Regions from separate parts of the Homo sapiens genome. Here all the other regions are linked to region 3. The links are contacts of gene promoters, found by promoter capture Hi-C in blood cells and fetal thymus (Javierre and others, 2016). All regions are on one chromosome and are shown on one strand. Each heading gives the region's core, a stretch centred on a gene start or on the middle of the fragment in contact. The rest is flanking DNA. Distances are from core to core; before and after follow the strand shown.

The links. The method cuts DNA at HindIII sites, captures the fragments that hold promoters and counts their contacts. A CHiCAGO score of 5 or more calls a contact.
Region 1: a fragment that was not itself captured here is called in contact with the fragment with the promoter of LRIF1 in region 3 in 1 of 17 cell types (naive CD4 T cells); the score reaches 5.9 in naive CD4 T cells.
Region 2: a contact is called between a fragment that was not itself captured here and the fragment with the promoter of LRIF1 in region 3, in 9 of 17 cell types (naive CD8 T cells, naive CD4 T cells, activated CD4 T cells and 6 more). The highest score is 9.9, in naive CD8 T cells.

The regions. Positions count from the first base shown.
Region 1 is chr1:110,668,041-110,671,214 of GRCh38, reverse strand. It overlaps a transcript of KCNA3 not described here. Among named protein-coding and RNA genes, the nearest start is that of KCNA3, 5.3 kb to the left of the region's middle. The HindIII fragment of the contact is 4,893 bases long and covers 1-3,174 here.
Region 2 is chr1:110,616,571-110,619,982 of GRCh38, reverse strand. It overlaps a transcript of KCNA2 not described here. Among named protein-coding and RNA genes, the nearest start is that of KCNA2, 12 kb to the right of the region's middle. The HindIII fragment of the contact is 2,799 bases long and covers 134-2,932 here.
Region 3 is chr1:110,962,547-110,966,081 of GRCh38, reverse strand. It overlaps LRIF1 (ligand dependent nuclear receptor interacting factor 1), which reads left to right and starts at 2,160. Exons shown (of 4, transcript NM_018372.4): 1 at 2,160-2,461. The coding sequence starts at 2,394. RefSeq lists enhancers at 2,292-2,501, 2,036-2,572. The HindIII fragment of the contact is 2,635 bases long and covers 1,586-3,535 here.

The DNA of each region.
Region 1 (3,174 bases), core at 137-2,636, 290 kb after region 3:
AATTATTCCGTTCCTTTTACTAACCCACTTGGCCTCCAAGCAACCTGTTTCCCTTTAAAAAGGATAAATGGCAGAATCTACTGCTGTTAGATTATTGGTCCAATTTTAATTTACATAATTATTTAATAGTATGCAGTGGTACAGTTCTTTGAAACAAAAAAGGGTTAAAAATAAGAGTAACATTTTATTTAAACATAATCATTCTGTTTCATATACATTATATAAATTATACATTATCTACAGTTGTTTTTTGGTTTTAATAGCATATAACTATTCTATCCTTCCAGAGTAAATGAGAGTAACCCTATTTTTAAAGCCCATGAAGTATTTTCAGTTAGGAGTACATTTATAATGCATGCATTGAAGAGAGAGGAAAATAGTGATTGAGACTATAAGAGAGAGCTGAGGAAGGAAAAGACCAAACAAATAGAGGCAAGAAATCTAAATATACCTGGTCATAGATTTGTTGTTTGTTTTTTATCATATATTTGTTTTTATCTATGTATATCTAAGTAGGACTTCATTATCTAGTTTTCTTTGCTTTTTGTTTGAGTTAACCTTTGACATTGATCTACCTCTTGACCAAACGTTTGGTACCCTTAATGACCAGAAATTATTTTTATGACACATTTTGATAATATGTTAGATACATTGTAACAATTACATTAAAATAATTTTTGTATCTGTTCTTAACATAGAGATGGAGGAAGTGCAATGACAATTTTATTCACATTTATTCAGGAGATGTAGAAACCTTGATTAGTTCTATAAGTAAATTATGGTTGTGCCATAATTCTTATGGTTATTAAATGGCAGTAATTTAAAGGGGGCCTTTGTTCTTTAATCCAGAGAAATATCCTGGCTTTTGACTCATAACTTTGAGGTAATATGATTGCTTGTAGTCACCACATTGTAAGTTCCCTAAAGGATATAAGCTCTGTGTCTTGAAGGTTTTAGGTACTAGTGCCTAGCACAGAATGTGGCACCTTTTATATTTGTTGAGTGAATGGCTGTTATCTTACATAAATGTTATTTCCAGGCTTTTAATAAAGTGGTTAAAAGCATAAGCTCTGCAGTCATATTTCCAGGATTTGAGTCCTGACTCTGGTATATGATCTTGAACAAATTACTTAACCTCTCTGTGCCTCAGTTTCTTTGTTTGTAAAATGAGGGTGATAAACAGTACCTCACAGGTTTATTGTGAATAGTAAATGTTAATACAGGTAGAACACTTAGAAAAAATAATTCCATGACACGGCATCAGAGATTTTGCTAAGAGATTATATTGTGATCATCACTCACAAGCACTGTATAATTAATACAATGTTTTGTGAATATGAAATACACAAGTAATCAGTGTCTTCCTATTTCCTTTCTATTATAAGAATAATAATTACCATTTATTAAGAGTCAACCATGTCCTGGACACTTGTCAACTCCGCAAGGTAAGTGCTATTAACCTCATTTTAGGAGGGCATAAAATAGATGCTTAAAGTTAAGTGATTTCCCTAAGACTTCACAGCTAGCAGGAGACTCAGTTATGATTTAAAGCCAGGTTATTCTGGCTCTGAAACCCATGCTACTTTTATTAGGTGACTTGAAAGACAAATCTCTTATGCTTTTAGACTTGGCTTCAGCCTATGTCACTAATTAATGAGTTCATGTAGATAACATATCTCCAGAAACCTATTTCATTTCAGTATACTGAAAATTAACCTGCTTAAAATAAGCAGGTATTTTAACCAAATATAAGCATCAAATATAAGTTATTTAAATAAGATGAAGAGATTGACTTTTCTAATAACAAAAGATTATTTTCTTATAGTTGGTTTATCTAGATTTAATCTTAGAAAGTATAACCAGTCATAGTAGTGTTTAGTGATAACTGCTATGACAATGGATATTTTTCAGTTTCAAGATTTTTCTGTTTTCATGTGTTTTAATCAACAATAGATGATAGCATTATGCAAATTAGTTTTCTATCTCCTTATGCTTTGCTTCATTTACTGAAGAACCATACCAGAAAGTCATGTAAATATTTTGACTCTCCCTTATTAAGAGGGAAGAAATTATTCAGAACAGAAGTATTAAAAGCAGAATGAGATTGCCAGTTCACTGAAACTTGTGACATTATTGCCTTACCTAACCACTCCATGGATCTTTAAGGGCATCTGTGCTCTAAAGAAATTAAAATAAAATTTTTCCTACATAATAGCTGCAGACCCTTCTCTCAGTTCTTAAATCATTTATGAAATGAAAATGGATAATGATTTGGGCTTAGAGCAAAATTCTAATGAGCCTACGTTTGCACATGCCAGCTGGCTTTGCCAAACTACAACCTTCACTGTTGAGCTCAGTTGCACGTCTTATGTGTTGAAGAAATATACGGATGTCTGTGTATAGCAAGAGATTCATGTGAGGAGGTGTGACTGGATCAGTGCACACCCATCAACACCCTGGGGAAAAATGTATATGCCTTACAGCTGATGAATCCAGATAGAAACATGGAAGTTAACATTGTTATTGTTTTATTTCTTTTATGATGTTTTAAAATGACATGATACACCAACTGTGGTGACATAACCACAGACACCTACGCATAGGAGGAAGCATTATGTCAGTTATTTCTAAACTTTGAAATAAAATTTCAGTATTGAAATTTAAATGCACAGTATGAAGACATTTAAAGTTATGGTTTGTTGGCATAAAACTTGTTATTTACCTTTTTGGCGTATAATATACTCAAGTATTTGTTTTGCTATAGTATATAAAGACAATGTATATAATATATACTAGTAGTCTGTTCCTTTGAGTACCATAACTATAACTTATTGACTTCTATACATTTAAAATTTCAACATTTTCTACAGCAGTTCCAAGTCCTTCCCACCTCTCAGCTGTGAATAGAAGTGATAACCCTTCCCACTAAGAAATGCAAAGAAGCACACGTGCCCCATAATCTGAAGACTTATGGAAACACTGTGAGATAGAGGTGAGGAGCATAAGAATGTGGAAGAGGATATTTAGGGCTGCATTTTTACAGTGGGAGCTTTTTCTTTGTGTTTTGTTTTAGGCCTTTTAAACTAAGGAGGATACAATTATTGGTTTTTGTACTATTCCGTATGGGTTTGGGGGCAATTCTATATATATTAATGAAATCACTTGTTTTTATAT
Region 2 (3,412 bases), core at 284-2,783, 350 kb after region 3:
CTACAGGGCACGTGAACAGGGAGAGGTGGTCTCCTAGGACGTTAAGTCGGCTTGGAGAGACTGGGAGCTGTCCAGGGGAGGGCTGAGGAGTTTGTCAGGCAGAGAGTGTATGTTACTTAACCACACTAAAGCTTCTGTTTCTGGGTTTTGTATTTTTAGAATGCGGAAGGGGAGGTGTTGTCAGAGAGGTGACCTCAGGTGACTGAAAGTGCTGGGGTTTAAGGGCTTAACAAATAGGTGGCGAAAAATATCAAACCCTCAAAATCTCCCCTGACCTTTTATCTCTTAGGACCCGGGATACGGGATGCGCAGGGAGCCAGGCGCGGCTGGTTAAGAAGCCCTGCCTGTGGCTGTCCACTCCCGGTCTCTCCCTGCTGCGTGGGCGTTGACGGCCGCAGCCCTCCCAGATTGCCGCATTGCCGCCCGAGCCACAGTGTGCAGATACCGCTGCATGTGGCGCCCCCTGGCGGCCAGTGGCAGCTCGTGCGTCTGTCTTTTCTGCAGAGCTGATTTCCACCTTGTATGTGTAGGAGGGGCCTCCTTTACAAAGAACCAGCCATACCCTTGGGAGTGGGAGCAGATTTCATAGCCGAGACAGGAGACCTTGTAAGAACTTCCTATGTGCCAGGCACAAGGTTAAAACCGGTATTATCATACATGCATTCATTCGTTTTCCTAGTGTGTGCCAGGCATCTCCTAGGAAGTAATGTGTAAGCAGAGGCCCCATAAAGGAATTACATAAAGTAATGTGTAAGCAGAGCAAGTCATGAGCATGTTTGGGGGTACAGTCTCCCAGGGAGTGGGGACAGCCAGGCCACAGGGATGCATTCTTTGGGTGTGGAGACCAGGAAGGAGGCAGCTGCAGAGGGTGGTTGGAAATGAAGTCAGAAAGGTGTCCAGGGGACAGACGGTACAGAGCCTTCTGGGCCATAGGACTTCAGGCTTAGTTCTGAGAGTAGTGAACAACTACTGGACTTTGAACAAAGGCATAAAACAACTCGATTTATGTTGTTTATAAAATCACTCTGGCTTCTGCGAGGGCATGAATAGGAACAGGGAGGCCTGTGAGGAGCCCAGGTGAGAGTAGAGCATCTGGGGCCAGGTTTGCTTCGCCTGCCGGAAGAGATAAGACATCTGGTTCAGAAGATGGTCTGAAGGCAGAGGCCATAGGAATCCCTGTTGGATTAGCCAAAGGCTGTGTCCCGGGGTTTGGGCCTGAGCAACTGGATGAGGGAGGAGTGGTGCTACTCAGAGGGATGGGGGTTCAGGTGTGGGGGCATGGGAAGGAAGCAAGAATTTGGTTTGGGATGTGCCATGTTTGAGCTGCCAATTAGACTCTAAGTCATGATGTTCGGTGCACCTGAGCAGGGCTCTCTACCCTCTCCATCCTCTCCTTATGTTCCTTTCGTGGCTCTCCTGGGTCTTTTTCCCATCTGAGGGCCACCCAAGCTGCCTCATCCTACCTCCGAAAGGAAAGGAAGCCCACACAGAGCAGCAATTCCACAGGGAAAGAACTGAGGGAAGGCAGCCACATTCCAGGGCCACACCCTAACTGGACGGCAAGGTCAGAGGCAGTCAGGGTTCTAGGCTCCACTCTCCAGAGAGGAATTAAAAGAGGATAAAATGCCTTTTCTCACACACTGACAGGTCACTCACATGTCAGCCAGGAGTGCAGTGGCACGATCATACCTCACTGTAACCTCGAACTCTTGGACTCAAGTGATCCTCCCACCTCAGGCTCCCAAGTAGCTAAGACTACAGGTGGGTGCCATCATGCCCAGATAATTTTTTTAAATTATTTTTTGTAGAGACAGGGTCTCACTATGTTGCACAAGCTGGTTTCAAACTCCTGGCCTCAAGCAATCCTCCTGCTTTGGCCTCCCAAAATGCTGGGATTACAGGCATGAGCCGCCGCACCCAGGCCCTCTCTGCTCTTCTCACTCCATCTACATTCTCATCCTGGGGGATCTCATTCTCACCCTTGGCTTCAATGACCCCTCCATGATGATGACTTTCAACTCTCCATTCCCTACCCTCTACCTCTCTCCTGAGCATCAGGCCAGCATTGCCATCTGCCCTGTTGACAAGGAACAGGCCCATCAGAGCAGCCCCACAAACCCCCATGTATGTCAGAACTGCCCACCATGTGAGCTCCATCCCTCGACACATGCATGAGTGCACACACACAGGTGCACATGCACTTCGCACACCACCTCTCTGAAGCCCTGTGGCGGCCCCTCCACACTCTCTCTCCCTCTCCCATCTCGCTGATCACTGAATCCTACACTCCCTGTAATGTCTCCCTTTTGGTGCTTTTCTCTTCATCACTGCCTTCATCCCTTCTACCGTTCACCTATTGAACAAATGGCCTGAGTCCAGACCCTTGACATCTCTGAGGGGAAGCAACCTCCTCCTTACCAGTTTCCTGCCTCTGCTCTTAGACCCATCCTTTCCACTATACTCCACATTTCCCAAGTTATCTTTCTGAAACATAGATTGGATCCTGTCTCTCCCACTCAGAACTCTCAATGGCTCCCTATCACCTACAGGACAACCTGAACTCCTCAGCATGACTTCAAGGCCTTTCTCAGTCTTCCCCCATCGACCTCTCATTTTACCATGTCCTCCCACACTGCTCGCTCCTGGCACTCCATCTGGCGCAGAGTCCCTGGCACAGGTGAGGCTGCTTCTCTGGTCTGTCCCTGTTGTGCCTTTTTCCTGGAATCCACTCACCCATTTGGGTATTTAGCTCACAAATATGTATTAAGCTCCCAGTGTGCTCCAGGCACTGGGGGTACAGGAGAGAACAAAATCCTCAAAATCCCTCCTCACACAGTGTGAGATAGGCTGTTGCAGAGAGCCCTTCTCCAGGGAGTGAATGAATGAAGCAGGCAGTGAGGCATGCAGATTGCCCATGAAGAATGCCCAAGCTTCACTTCAACACCTCTTTCGGGGTCTTTGGACATTCTGCTCCTCCGTAAAGACATCTCTCAATTTCCATCCTTGGTGAAGGCTTTCCTCTTCTTAGGTGCTTTTGTACTTTATTCTTCAATTTAAGCCAATTCATTCTGCCTTGGGTTAGAGTCAATTGTTGACAATTCTGCTTCCTTATCCATCCTTCTAGGGAAGGAACTAGTATTTATCAAGCACCTCCTCTGTGCCACGCTCTGTGTGTCCCCCACAGTGCTTGGCTCGATGCCTGGTTTAGAGCCGGGGCTAGAGGACAGACCATGACTCAGCTCCTGCCTTTTGCACCCAGCTGCTGGCTATGTGGCTACAGGCAAGCCACTCAGCCTCACCAAGCTTGTTTCTGTAACTGTTGAATGGGAGTGAACATAGCACCTGCCTCTGTTAGGAATTATCCTTCTCACATAGCCTGGAGAGTTTCAGTTAGACCCTGGCTCGGTTGTTC
Region 3 (3,535 bases), core at 911-3,410:
GCCACTGTACTCCAGTCTGGGGTGACAGAGTGAGACCCTGTCTAAAAAAGAAAAAGAAAAAAAGAAAAGAAAAAAGAAAAAGAAAAAAAGGAAAAGAATCAAGGATTTTGATCCTTATCATAAGAGCAATGGGGAAACTGATTTTTTTTTTTAATGCAGTGAGATGACACCATCAGATTTGTGTTTCCATATGGTATCTCTGGCTGCAGCATTTACAGGAATACAAGAGTGGATATGAGGCTCACGCCTGTAATCCCATCACTTTGGGAGGCTGAGGCGGGGAGATCAGGAGGTCAGGAGATCGAGTCCATCCTGGCTAACACAGTGAAACCCCATCTCTAATTAAAATACAAAAAATTAGCTGGGTGTGGTGGCGGGCGCCTGTAGTCCCAGCTACTCAGGAGGCTGAGGCAGGAGAATGGCGTGAACCCAGGAGGCGGAGCTTGCAGTGAGCTGAGATTGCCCACTGCACTCCAGCCTGGGTGACAGAGTGAGACTCCCTCTAAAAAAATAAATAAATAAAAAAGGAGTGGATATGAGGGTATCCGTTAAAGCTTTACTAGACCAAGTAAGCTTGCTCTACAGTAGTAGTAATAGAAATATAAAGCAGACTTGTAAGATATTTAGAAGATAAAATCTGCAAAAGTTGGTGAATTGTATATTTTGGAATAAAAAAAGGAAAGTGTTAAGGATGACACTGGGATTTAGGCAACTTTAATGGAAGGAAGTTATTTCTTTCTTTCTTTCTGAGATAGCACTGATAAAAGAAAACGTGTAGTGGGGGGAAGAGAAGCAAGTCATAAGTGTGGTTTTGAACATGTTTCATTTGAAGGGGCTTTTAAAATAGCAAAAAGGATATCTCAACAATTCACTTGAACATCCAGGTATAGATCTCAGAGAAATCAGAACTGGGAACATAAATTTATGAGTCACACGGCAGCATAATGCAGTAGTACATGGTGTGTTTAGCCAGACAACCTGGATTTGGAGCCTGGCTCCATCACTCACAAGCTCTATGACCTCTAAAAATTTGTTCACCCTCTCTGAGCATCAGTTACTTCATCTGCATATAATAATTATTTTATTAGCTGTTAGGAGTAAATTAATTTTGTAAAACACTTAAATCAGTGCCAAGGACATACATGTGTTTGGTGGTAAAATAATGGGTGGAGGTGGTAATTCAATCCAGGAGCATGAATAAAACCACGAATCGAGACAAGACAGTTTGAAAACATAAGAGAATCAGTGATCAAGCTGAAAGGAACTCCCTTGAAAAGGGAGATATCTTCAAAAGAGATTGAGAAGGTGTAGACAAAAAGGTAGGAGCAAAACCAGGAAAGTATATTGCCAATGGCGTCAAGATGAGGGACTAATTAATAGTGCTGCGAGGAAAAATTCTCAAATAGTGTGAGATAAAGAGCATCAACTGCAATGGACAGCTGAATAAATGATTTAATGAATACAATGGATGTTCTGATGCAACTCCCAGATCTCCCTTCAGAAATAAAGGTCTATATGACAATAAGTGATAGTTTCGATGAACGTAGGCTGGAGGAAAGAGTTAAGTAAGTCTAGAGGCAAAGCTTCAGGAAAGAGGAGTAAATGGGAAACCTTCAGAGAAGCAGCAACAATAATCGCTGGCCACAGGCAGGCGTTTTAAGTTTTCTCAGGCCAGAAGTGCATGACTCCAAAAAAGCGCGCCGATGTCTTTTAATGCACTGACGGGAGAGAAAAACGTACGCTAGCGGCGAGCACAGAAGCAGAAAATTTATGATTGACCCCGGAAACATTTTATTTTGCGTAGGTGTCGGGAGAGCTTTCTTTTGCGATTTGTTCCTTGATCCGGAAGAAAAGATAGCAAATATCACTTGCCATTGGATTGCATCATAAGGGTTGGGCTTTAGCGAGCCAGTCACCTTGGCAACCGGACGTGACGACCCCGGAAGACGCCCGACCGAGCTTTGCTCCAGCTATCGGCTTCAGTGGGCGGGGCGGCAGAGCCAGACTGACGCAGTCTTCAGCACTGACCAGGCTCTGTTGGGGGTGGTGCCACCAAGGCCACGCCCCCTGCGCCTGCTCCGGCGGAGTCTGGAGAGTTGTCGTAGGCTCTGAGGGCGGAGACTCACGCCGATTCTCTCTCAGCGTAGGGCTGTGAGGGCGCAGTCCACCGCCAGGAGCCTTCCGGTTTCTGCGCGGTGCGCGACCTCGTCCCGAAGCCTGGGGATACACCCTCTCGAGAGCCCGCTGTCGCCCTCCGTTAAGGTCGAACCCCTCACAGTTGCTGTGGGCAACTCCAGCCCAACATTCCCTCGCTCTGGTTCTCGCCCCATTGGGAAACTCGGCCCCACGCTTCCCACTTTTCTGGATGAGGTGTCCCCTTTCTCCCCACTAAAATGTCAAATAACCTACGGAGGGTCTTCCTGAAACCCGCAGAGGAAAATTCAGGCAACGCCTCGCGTTGGTAAGTACCGGTTTCGAATCCTCCCCACGGCTGCCCCTCTGTCCGTCTTAGGGATGTGGAGTCGGCCGTCGTTTCCGGACGCTGTGTAGTTGAGAGGAGTTGGAGCCCGCAGAGTGCGCCACCCAGGCGGGAAGCGCTTGTCTCCGCGGCGCTTAAAGCCCATAGAGCGCTTTCCTCTGGGAAATGTAAAACCTCTTTAGAGCCTGACACAGCGGCTCCGCGGGACCCCAGCGTCTCAAGTTTAATAGGCGGACCGAGTAGATCTCCACGGGAGATGAAAACCAAGATGGCCGACGCTCTTATGTGACTCAAACCTTCTGGAAGATTCTCACGCACACGCAGAAACGCAGCAGTCAGCACGGATTAGCAAGTGCAGCCCTGGTGGCGCTGGACCTTCAGTGAAAATAGATTTTAATAGTGAGACAGAAAGGGTGTGTGATTGAAGAAAAAGGGCTTTAGAATGAGGAGATCGAATATTTAAAATTTCAAGTAATAGTTTTATGTGAAGAGAGAGAAGTAAGACTGGAGAAATCCTCGTGTAAAGTCAGTCCTTTTGAACAGCCTTTTTGAAGTAGGGTGTAATGAAGTGCCATTTCATTGGCTATTTATATTTGGCATGAGGAGAGTCCAGTATTTCTAAGGAAGATATTCTTGTAAAGTTAGAAAATAGATGATCAGTAACTTAGTTTTTGGGTTTTTTTTTTTAAATTGTATTACAAGGAAATGAATTGGAAACAATGTTAGCTAAAGCAGAATATTTTCACTTGTACTCTCACATGGTTAGTAGATTAAGTGATGAGGAAAAAATAGGGTCTGCAGACTCTAATAAGAAAATGAAGAACTAAGATGCAAAACTCATGGAAGAGGATTTTCGTTTGAAGAAAATCAAGCTACCTGGGGTTAATCTCAACTTTGCTAGTTAGCATTTGTGAGGCCAGGTACCTGTTTCCAGTCTGTAAATAATAGCACTTAGAAATATTTTAAAGATTAGGAGAATGAAATAATGTAAAATACGTCGTGTAGGAAAATAGTAAAGCACAATTTAAATGTTAACTATTACTATTATAAGCATAC